3 separate regions of the Homo sapiens genome follow, and regions 2 and 3 are each linked to region 1. Evidence: promoter capture Hi-C in 16 types of primary human blood cells and fetal thymus (Javierre and others, 2016). All regions are on one chromosome and are shown on one strand. Each heading gives the region's core, a stretch centred on a gene start or on the middle of the fragment in contact. The rest is flanking DNA. Distances are from core to core; before and after follow the strand shown. Region 1 holds the start of C3orf33 (chromosome 3 open reading frame 33). Region 2 overlaps LOC101928236 (a long non-coding RNA gene). Region 3 overlaps DHX36 (DEAH-box helicase 36).

What was found. The method cuts DNA at HindIII sites, captures the fragments that hold promoters and counts their contacts. A CHiCAGO score of 5 or more calls a contact.
Region 2: a fragment that was not itself captured here is called in contact with the fragment with the promoter of C3orf33 in region 1 in 1 of 17 cell types (total CD4 T cells); the score reaches 6.7 in total CD4 T cells.
Region 3: a fragment that was not itself captured here is called in contact with the fragment with the promoter of C3orf33 in region 1 in 2 of 17 cell types (activated CD4 T cells and total CD4 T cells); the score reaches 5.7 in activated CD4 T cells.

Annotation. Positions count from the first base shown.
Region 1 is chr3:155,804,567-155,807,991 of GRCh38, forward strand. C3orf33 (chromosome 3 open reading frame 33) reads right to left here and starts at 1,712. Exons shown (of 5, transcript NM_001308229.2): 1 at 1,573-1,712. The coding sequence starts at 1,686. RefSeq lists a silencer at 1,647-1,996. The HindIII fragment of the contact is 11,000 bases long and covers 1-3,425 here.
Region 2 is chr3:157,177,435-157,180,819 of GRCh38, forward strand. All of the region lies in intron 2 of LOC101928236 (a long non-coding RNA gene), which reads left to right. Among named protein-coding and RNA genes, the nearest start is that of CCNL1, 19 kb to the left of the region's middle. RefSeq lists an enhancer at 449-950. The HindIII fragment of the contact is 2,080 bases long and covers 353-2,432 here.
Region 3 is chr3:154,293,931-154,297,430 of GRCh38, forward strand. It overlaps DHX36 (DEAH-box helicase 36), which reads right to left. Exons shown (of 25, transcript NM_020865.3): 13 at 1,354-1,409. Among named protein-coding and RNA genes, the nearest start is that of DHX36, 29 kb to the right of the region's middle. The HindIII fragment of the contact is 1,727 bases long and covers 1,304-3,030 here.

The DNA of each region.
Region 1 (3,425 bases), core at 462-2,961:
AGTTAATGATTCCTTCTGAAAACATTTTCTTCACTTGGCTTCTAGAACACCTGGCTGTCTTGACTTTTTTACTACCTCACTGTCTGCTTCTTCTTAGTCTTTGCTGACCTCCTCTTTACTCCCCAGATTCTCAATGTTATAATCCCCCAAATTCTAGGGCTTCTTCAGTAGCTTTTCTCACTTGCTCTGAGATGTTATTCAAGCCCACGGCTTTAAATGCTACTTAAGGTTTATGCAGGTCATTCCCAATGTTCTATGTCAGGTTCTGATCTCCCTTCAACACCGGACCCCATATCCAGTTGCCAAGGACAGCATCTACAATTCTGCTTAGAAGTCTAATAATGATCTCCAAATTTGCACATCTCCATGTACGTGTCCAAAAAGTTCTCTAGATTTTCCCCAATAAATCATTTATTCCAACTCCTTCTCCTTATCAGCAACTATTACCAGCCTCCTTGGACCTCTTTCTTTGTACCTCACACCCAAACAATTCATATCACCACAATTCTGTGTCTTAGCCACAACCCTCTCTTGCCTGGTGGCCTAACATGTCCCTCTCTTGCTTCAACTCCAGAGGCTTAGTGCTTCACTTAAAAAAAAAAAAAAAAAAAAAGGCAGGGCACCAGTGGCTGATGCCTACAATCCCAGTGCTTTGGGAGGCCGAGGCGGGCAGATCTCTTGAGACCAGGAGTTCAAGGCCAGCCTGGGCAACACAGGAAGACCTTGCCTCTACAAACAAAAAACAAATTAGCCTGGTGTGGTGACAAGTGCCTGTAGCCCTAGCTACTCGGGAGCCTGAGGTGGGAGGATTGCTTAAGCCCAGGAAGTGGAGACTGCAACGAGACATAATGGTGCCACTGCACTCCAGGCGTGACAGAGGGAGACCCTGTCTCAAAAAAAAGAAATCTATTCGGGAGGCTGAGGTGGGAGATCACTTGAGGCCAGGAGTTGGAGGACAGCCTGGACAACATAGCAAGACTCCCAGTCTCTAACTCTAAAAGAAAGTAGTCGATGGGGTAGCGCACGCAACCTGTGGTTCCAGCTACTCGGGAGGCTGAAGTGGGAGGATCTTTTCGGCCGAAGTGGGTGGAGCAGCAGCAGTGAGCTATGATCGTGCCACTGCACTCCAGCTTGGGCCAGAGAGGAATACCGTGTCCCTAAAAAATAAAATTAAAAATAAATAAAAATTAGAAATGCTCTCTCCCAAGGCGTACAGGACTTCCCTGCTCTTCCTCGGTCTCCTCTCTGGGCCCTCCCCAAATGCTCTAATGGACCAGGTGGCATCCCCGAGCTGGGCTGCGTCTCACCCTTTGAGGTGCCCCCTACAGCCCAGCAAGGATCCAGAACAGTCCTTGTAATAATGAGGCCGAACTGGCCCCCTGGCCCGCCCCCGGCCCTCTGCAGCCCCGCACACACGACACTCGCGATGTCGCCCTCTCGAGCTCATTCCCCCGCAGTTTTCTGTCGCTCCCCGGCCCCGGCGGGATCCACGCCTGAGGCCTCACGTTGTTCTCAGGGTCGCTCTGTGCCGCCCCGCGCCCACCACCCGCCCAGACTGCGTGGCCCCAGTACCCGGACTAGGCGCAGGTGGTCGTCTGCCCACTGCGAGATCCGAGCCACGACGTTGGGCTCCATTCCGTCCTTGTCGGCAGACGGCGAGCCGGTGGCCGCGGGCTGCCCCGCCATGTTCCCGGCCTCCTGCGAGCGGCCCTGAGCTCCTCCGGCTGGCGGCAGGGGGCGCCGCTCACCTCGGGAAGGCGGCGGGGTCCCCTTCCCCGCGGACCGGGGTGGCCCCGCGACCTGCAGTCGCCAGTGGGCGGGCCCCAGATATCAGACGTCTTAACAGTGCCCCAACCGCTTTTATGCAGGGTGATTCCACGATGCAGGAGATCTCTGAGCAGCACTGTGGGGGCTGAAGCATTCCCTATCAAGCTAGTAGGATGATTGTCAGCTGGTGACTTCAATTCACTCAGCTGCAACGTGGTTTTCGCAGGTGCCACACAAGGAAGGAAATTGAAGTAATTCATTCCTTCCACCTGCTCCCAAGGAACAGCATATGCATATTTTTTAACCAAATACGACCTGTCCTTGAAACCTATGCATATTTCTTATATTCAAATTGTGCTTTAAAGTTTTAAGAGCTGCTCTGAAAGCCTAATATCACATGCTCTAAATCTTTGAGCTGTTAGAAAACAGTAGTTAATACATTTTAAATAAAACAAAAATTAGATACAGAGCAGTGCAAATAATATGGTAACATTTATGTAATAAAAATATATATTGAGGCCGGGTGTGGTGGCTCCTGCCTGTAATACCAACACTTTGGGAGGCCGAGGCGGGCGGATTACTTGAGGTCAGGGGTTCGAGACCAGCCTGGCCCACATGGCGAAATTCCGTCTCTACTGAAAATACAAAAATTAGCTGAACCTGGTGGTATGCGCCTATAATCCCAGCTACTCAAGAGGCTGAGGCAGGAGAATCGCTTGAACCTGGGAAGCGGAGGTTGCAGTGAGCCAAGATCGTGCCACTACACTCCAGCCTGGGTAACAGAGCAAGACTCCATCTAAAAAAATAAATAAATACTAAATACTATACAAGAAACTAGTAACAGTGACTACCCCGGGAAACGGAAGGTAGGAAAGGGCAAGAGGTTTCACAATCTGCCACCTCTAATAAACATTTTTCAGTGATAGAAATGTCCTGTAGCTTCATGTGGGTATTGCCTGCATGAAATGTGGCTACTGAAATCAAGGAACTGAATTTTTAACTTTATTAATTTTAATTAATTTAGTCACATATGGCTAGTGGCTATTATATTGGAGAGTGCAATTATACTACTGGAGTTTTTTTTTTTTTTTTACTTTATGCAAATATTACCTTTAAAAGTCAAAACAGACTATGTTGTATTCCTAACAATACATATTATGAGTGGTGGCTTCAAGGAGTGTATTGTCTCTGTGTTATAGCCAATAGAAAGTAAATAACAGCCGGGCGTGGTGGCTTACGCCTGTAATCCCAGCACTTTGGGAGGCTGAGGAGGTTGAATCATGAGATCAGGAGATCGAGACCATCCTGGCTAACACAGTGAAACCCCATCTCTACTAAAAATACAAAAAATTAGCCAGTCGTGGTGGCATGCGCCTGTAGTCCCAGCTACTCAGGAGACTGAGGCAGAAGAATCGCTTGAACCCAGGAGGCAGAGGTTGCAGTGAACCAAGATCGCACCACTGCACTCCAGCCTGGGCCACAGAGCAAGACTCTTGTCTCAATAAAAAGAAAAGACAAGAAAGTAAGTAAATAAGAATCGTTGACACTTGGGTCTTGCTTGCTATGCGCCAGGTATTGTTCTAGGTGCTTCTCAGACATTAACTCCCTTCATCCTCCCAGCAACTCATGAGGTAGGCACTATTATTAATCCCAGTTTT
Region 2 (3,385 bases), core at 143-2,642, 1.4 Mb after region 1:
TCCTGAAGTTTGATTTATGTTTCAGCTGCCTATACTGAAAGAAAATAAACTGCTGTGTATTCCATAATTTAAAAATAATTGTTCACTTTAGTGACATTTTGTAGTTGGATAGTGGAGACAAAAGATGATACTCTCTGTGATCTTCAATCTAAACATTTATGTTAGGACAAATTATTCCCATATCTGTATAATGCTATATTTCTTCCCTGACCTCTACAAATCACAGAAGCACCGTTATTCGATCTTGTTCTCTTTTTCAAAAAATTCTACCTTCCAAGGTGGTGGTTCTTTAAGTTTATAAGTGAACCATAAAGTAGTTGGAAACCTGGATCCCAGGATGGTAGAAACATGAAGCTTGTTTATTCCAAGGACAGTTTTATATATGTATAGGACTTTATTATCCTTACTATATACAGCATTTTAATGGGGAGGGGGAACCAGGAGCATTGTTGGGGGTTAATTTAATTTTTGTAGTTTTAAAATACAAACGAATGATTGTATCAGTCTTTTTTTTTTTGTATTTATTGATCATTCTTGGGTGTTTCTCAGAGAGGGGGTTGTGGCAGGGTCATAGGATAATAGTGGAGAGAAGGTCAGCAGATAAACACGTGAACAAAGGTCTCTGGTTTTCCTAGGCAGAGGTCCTTGTGGCCTTCCGCAGTGTTTGTGTCCCTGGGTACTTGAGATTAGGGAGTGGTGATGACTCTTAACGAGCATGCTGCCTTCAAGCATCTGTTTAACAAAGCACATCTTGCACCGCCCTTAATCCATTTAACCCTGAGTTGACACAGCACATGTTTCAGAGAGCACAGGGTTGGGGGTAAGGTTATAGATTAACAGTGTCCCAAGGCAGAAGAATTTTTCTTAGTACTGAACAAAATGGAGTCACCTATGTCTACTTCTTTCTACACAGACACAGTAAAAATCTCATCTCTCCTTCTTTTCCCTACATTTCCTCCTTTTCTTTTCGACAAAACCGCCATCGTCATCATGGCCCTTTCTTGATGGTCGCTGTCTCTTCAGAGCTGTTGGGTACACCTCACAGACGGGGTGGCTGGGCAAAGGTGCTCCTCACTTCCCAGACGGGGCGGCCGGACAGAGGCGCTCCTCACATCCCATACGGGGCGGCTGGGCAGAGACACTCCTCACTTCCCAGACGGGGCGGCCGGGCAGAGGCGCTCCTCACTTCCCAGACGGGGTGGCCGGGCAGAGGTGCTCCTCACTTCCCAGATGATGGGCGGCCGGGCAGAGGCGCTCCTCACCTCCCAGACGGGGCAGCAGGGCAGAGGCGCTCCTCACCTCACAGATGGGGCGGCTGGGCAGAGGTGCTCGCTTCCTAGATGGGGCGGCTGGGCAGAGGCGCTCCTCACCTCCCAGAAGAAGGGCGGCTGGGCAGAGGCGCTCCTCACATCCCAGATGATGGGTGGCCGGGCAGAGGCGCTCCTCACCTCCCAGACGGGGCGGCCAGGCAGAGGCGCTCCTCACATCCCAGATGATCGGCGGCCGGGCAGAGGCGCTCCTCACTTCCCAGATGATGGGCGGCCAGGCAGAGGTGCTCCTCACATCCCAGACGATGGGCGGCCGGGCAGAGGCGCTCCTCACTTCCCAGATGATGGGCAGCCGGGCAGAGGTGCTCCTCAGCTCCCAGATGGGGTGGCTGGGCAGAGACGCTCCTCACCTCCCAGACGAAGGGTGGCCGGGCAGAGGCACTCGCTTCCTAGATGGGGTGGCTGGGCAGAGACGCTCCTCACCTCCCAGACAAAGGGCGGCCGGGCAGAGGCGCTCGCTTCCTAGACGGGGCGGCTGGGCAGAGGCTCTCCTTACCTCCCAGACGATGGGCGGCTGGGCAGAGGCGCTCCTCACTTCCCAGATGATGGGCGGCCGGGCAGAGGTGCTCCTCAGCTCCCAGATGGGGTGGCTGGGCAGAGACGCTCCTCACCTCCCAGACGAAGGGTGGCCGGGCAGAGGCGCTCGCTTCCTAGATGGGGTGGCTGGGCAGAGACGCTCCTCACCTCCCAAAGGGCGGCCGGGCAGAGGCGCTCGCTTCCTAGACGGGGCGGCCGGGCAGAGGCGCTCCTCACCTCCCAGACGAAGGGCAGCCAGGCAGAGGTGCTCCTCACATCCCAGATGATGGGCGGCCAGGCAGAGGTGCTCCTCACCTCCCAGATGGGGAGGCCGGGCAGAGGCATTCCTCACATCCCAGATGATGGGCGGCCGGGCAGAGGCGCTCCTCACTTACGAGACGGGGCAGCCGGGCAGAAGCGCTCCTCATTTCCCAGACGGGGCAGCCGGGTAGAAGCGCTCCTCACTTCCCAGACGGGGTGTATCAGTCTTTAAAATCAGCAATAATGTTACACTGCTAGAACTTTAGAACATACAGACATGAAATAATATCCTCACCAGAAAAGTACTAACCAACTCTGTTACTGAGAAGCTTGAGAAAACATTTTAACAACATCTGCACTCAGGGATAAAATTTGAAATGAGAGTTCAAAGGACAAGATTTATTAACCTTATCTTTCTGTCTTACAATGAACACAGAAGCTCTCATAATTAAGCAATTTGAACAGAAAGATTAGCAAGGGATTGGTCTTTGTATGTTTAATTACTCTGAAGTTATAATGGAAAACCTCTCATGGGACAACATGTATTTACATGTTTGCAAATAATGCTTTGCTTTACATTATGTAGAAAATATTTTATTCCAGAGTATTGTGAACTTTCAAACATCTATTCTGTAGATGATTGAAATATTTTGGATAATTAATCTCAATTCATATTGATACAAATATCTTTGACTCTCATACTCTGTTGCAGTTACTATTGCTACATAGCAAATTGGCCCAAATTAAGCATCTTGAAACAACCATTTCTTATGTTCATGAATTTTGGGGAAATTCACATCAGACACGGAAGGAATAATCCCTGCTTCTTGTGGTGTCAGGTCTCATCTCTTAAGCCGGGCTGGCTTAAAGACTAGAATTGCTGATGGGAACACTCACACCTGGCTGCCTTATGTGATTTGGTTTCCTTACAGCTAGTGATCTCAGGGTAGTCAGACTTTTTACCAGGTGGTTCAGGGTTCCAAGCATGAGTGTTCTAGTGCACAAGGCTGGATTGCCAAGCTTCATTATCATGTCCACAGTGGTCTGTTGGTTGAAACAGTCACAAGCCTGCCCATAGTCAAGAGGTGTGGCCATAGACACTTCCTCCTCCACCTCTCCATGAAGAGTATAAAAAAAGTTAGGACCCTGTTTAAAAACTGCTACTTACTTTATCCAGCCCTCTCATAGTCATATTCAACTCTGAAGAATTTTTCTTTAGATATTTTCCCAAAGGGACTACATGTTCATAAACCCCCTACATGTGGGTGAAGGCCAATTAA
Region 3 (3,500 bases), core at 917-3,416, 1.5 Mb before region 1:
ACATATACATCTAATATTTATCGATGTATTTATGAAGTACAGATCATTTTCAATATTACAAAATTATCTTTTGGTAAACCACATTAAATCTCCCACAGATGTCACAATCTTATCACAAACAAGATTTCCAATGAGGTATCATTATTTAAATTTACAGCAGTTTTTTAACAAAAGCTGGAGGTTATAAAGTAGAGGGAGGGATATTTCTGTTAGGACAAGAATAATGAAGTCAAGTCTCCATGGGTAAGAACACTGAATAATCAGGCAGATGCCCAACCCAGCAGAACAAATGTCAACTGTGCAGCTGTACCAACCACTGTCTACTAGCTTGAGATCAGATTGGAGTGAAAAAAAAAAATCCTCTTTAAATGGAGAATTCTACAAATACTGCCCCACAACCCGACAATGTCACTAAAGTAGAAAGAAGATAGGTAATCAAGTACCACTGGCGATAATGCAAACAAACAAAAAGCAAAAACTTATCCCTTCATTTACAAAACTGGTAGTCAATACAGAAAATGTTTCCCAGGCTATTCACATACTCTCCAGCAAAGGAATACATAATTTACTAGGTTATGGTGTGGAAGATGAATACTTCCATGCTGGATACTCTTTCAGTCTTTGGAATCAAGAGTTTTCTTTCTTGCCCCCTCTCTTCTCTCAGGTATGTACTCTGTATCTAATTCATGACTAAGGTACCAGCAACAAAAATATTAAAAGGGTCTCAAAGAAAAGTATCTTGATATTTTCTTATAAAAAGAGAAAAGGATAAACTAGAAATGGGGGGAGGAGCAGGTTTTCTAATCAATTTCATTTTGCAAGAGCCTGCAAATACTGTAGATCATAACATTATCCTGCCTCTGAGAATGTAGTGTTCACTCTAATTAGGAAAGCGCCTGTATCTGATGGAGCCAAACATTCATAATACATTATTAAAACAGAAATTTTATACCTGTGAATATACTAGCTTTGTGAAATTAAATCTCAAATCATCATCAAACTGTAGTATGTCACAGATCATTAATTTCTAGGTTTGGTTACTTTTAGTAGTACTCACAGACCTTTTTCTCTTACTCAGGAAACTCAACGAAGTTACTGGTGAAACCAATTCTTTAAACTTTTTCCTAATGTAGACAAAACTAATCTGATTTGTGGGTTATCCGCTGATATTCAAGTTTTTGAGCAATCATCCCCTGAAGACTCATTTGCAAAGGTTCTCAAAGAAGTATTTTTTTACATGAATTACTATTTGAAAATACTCCTTAAAAAAAATAAAGGAAAACACGTAACAAGCAGTCCTTAAAGCTTGCCTCAGTTTGAAATACATTTAACAAATGTATCCATTTAACATACCTGTGTCTGGTTAACTGTAGGCATCAGTGAATGTAAAGGTATAATTAAAAATTTATCTGAAAATTAAAGAGAATTAAATTTTAAGATAAAGAGTTGCAGAAAAGCTCCATCAAACACATATGAGACAATGAATTCAGAAGCTGAACCACTCAATTCTTTTTTTGATAAGACATTGAACATTATTTAATGAAAACAGCTAAACCATCTGAGTTGACAAACTGCCCATGTGTTTAAGTGAACCAAAAATTCTTTATTTTTATTTCTACATACAAACAGACCAACTTAATTTCTTTATAGTCTTGTTTTCTGAGCGCTCCAAGTTCAAGCTAACATTTTGTTCTGTTAGTTTATTTCATATTGATAAGTATTTTCCCCAAATTCTTAAAGAATGCTCAAAAGTTGGGAGTAATCTTTTCAAATTACACCAATAAAAACTGAATGAATAGGCAACAATTCTGTTTAACATGAATACGTTTGTACACTTTGGGTGATCCTATTTTTTTGTTGTTCAGTCAGGGTCTCATTCTGTTGCCCGTTGCTGTGGTGTGATCTCTGCTCACTGCAACCTCTGCCCCCTGGGCTCAAGTGATCCTCCCACCTCAGCCTCCCGAGTAGCTGAGACCACAGGCATGCACAACCATGTTTGGCTAATTTTTGTATTTTTTGTAGAGATGGGGATTTGCCATGTTGCCCAGGCTGGTCTTGAACTCCCAAGCTCAAGCAATCCACCCACCTCAGCCTTCCGAAGTACTGGGATTACAGATTACAGGCATGAGCCCTGCACCTGGCAATCCTCACTATTTTAATCAAACCGATAATATCTAAATTTTTAGAGCAAATTACTTATTAAATACCCATGTCCTAGTTAGAAAATAATGAAATAGTCCTTGTTAAAAATAATACATTCCAGGCCAGGCGCGGTGGCTCATGCCTGTAATCCCAGCACTTTGGGAGGCCGAGGCGGGCGGATCACGAGGTCAGGAGATCAAGACCATCCTGGCTAACACGGTGAAACCCCGTCTATACTAAAAATACAAAAACTTAGCTGGGCGTGTTGGCGGGCGCCTGTAGTCCCAGCTACCTGGGAGGCTGAGGCAGGAGAATGGCGTGAACCTGGGAGGCGGAGCTTGCAGTGAGCCGAGATCGCGCCACTGCACTCCAGCCTAGGTGACAGAGCGAGACTCCGTCTCAAAAATAATAATAATAATAATAATAATACATTCCAAAAGTGACCCACATTTTACACATATTTTGTTAAAAATATAAGAAATTCCTACTTTTTAAGTTTCCAAATGAAATAGCTCAAGCCCATTCACAATTATTAGCCAACACAGAAAGTCTGGTGTAATACAGTGATGGGTGAAAGGGAGAGTATCAAGAAAGCAAGAGTTAATTTCACATTTAACTATGCTTACAAAAATACAATCTGACTTAAATGCCCAAATGATTCAAGTCAGCTATACTTCCCCAGAAAAGAACTGTTGTTATCTAAAGGATATGATGATCCCCATGGACTCTGACTGTGAAGAGATTTTACGAATCTTAAAAATAAAAAGTAGTGAACAGCTGCCAAGCAACTGATGTTGCTAAAAAAGAATCCTCTGAATTACTTGTCTCTGTGACAGTATGAAATATTACAACTATAATATTCAAGCCAAAAATACTTGAATTGAATCAAGCTTTCAGATATAACTTTCGAGTTACAGGAAATAAAGGTAAGAGAGAATCAAATGAAATGATAGCATAAAGAGTCACACAAATTCAGAAAGTTGGACTTATTAGAGAACAAATGGCCTGGTCTTTTCCATGACTTTACATTACCATGAGGAAAAGCAGGGAGTGGAGGGGAGCAATGTTCTAGAGCTAGATCAAAAGATGTTGACACTTTCTATAGTTTGAACAGGCTAGTTGTGAAAGACACTTTTCAGAAAAATGGGAAAATCTGATTACAGACTGGATTATCAGATGGTATTAAGGATTAGGTATGATAAAGACATGATGGTTATATAGAAAATTGCCTTTAGAGATTCTTGCTTATACATTTAGAAATGAAATGTGACAGCTGCAATTGACTTTAAGAAAAAACTAGGACTGAAAAAATAATTGTTGGCACTGAAGTCGTGGATTCATTAAGATTCTCTAGTTTT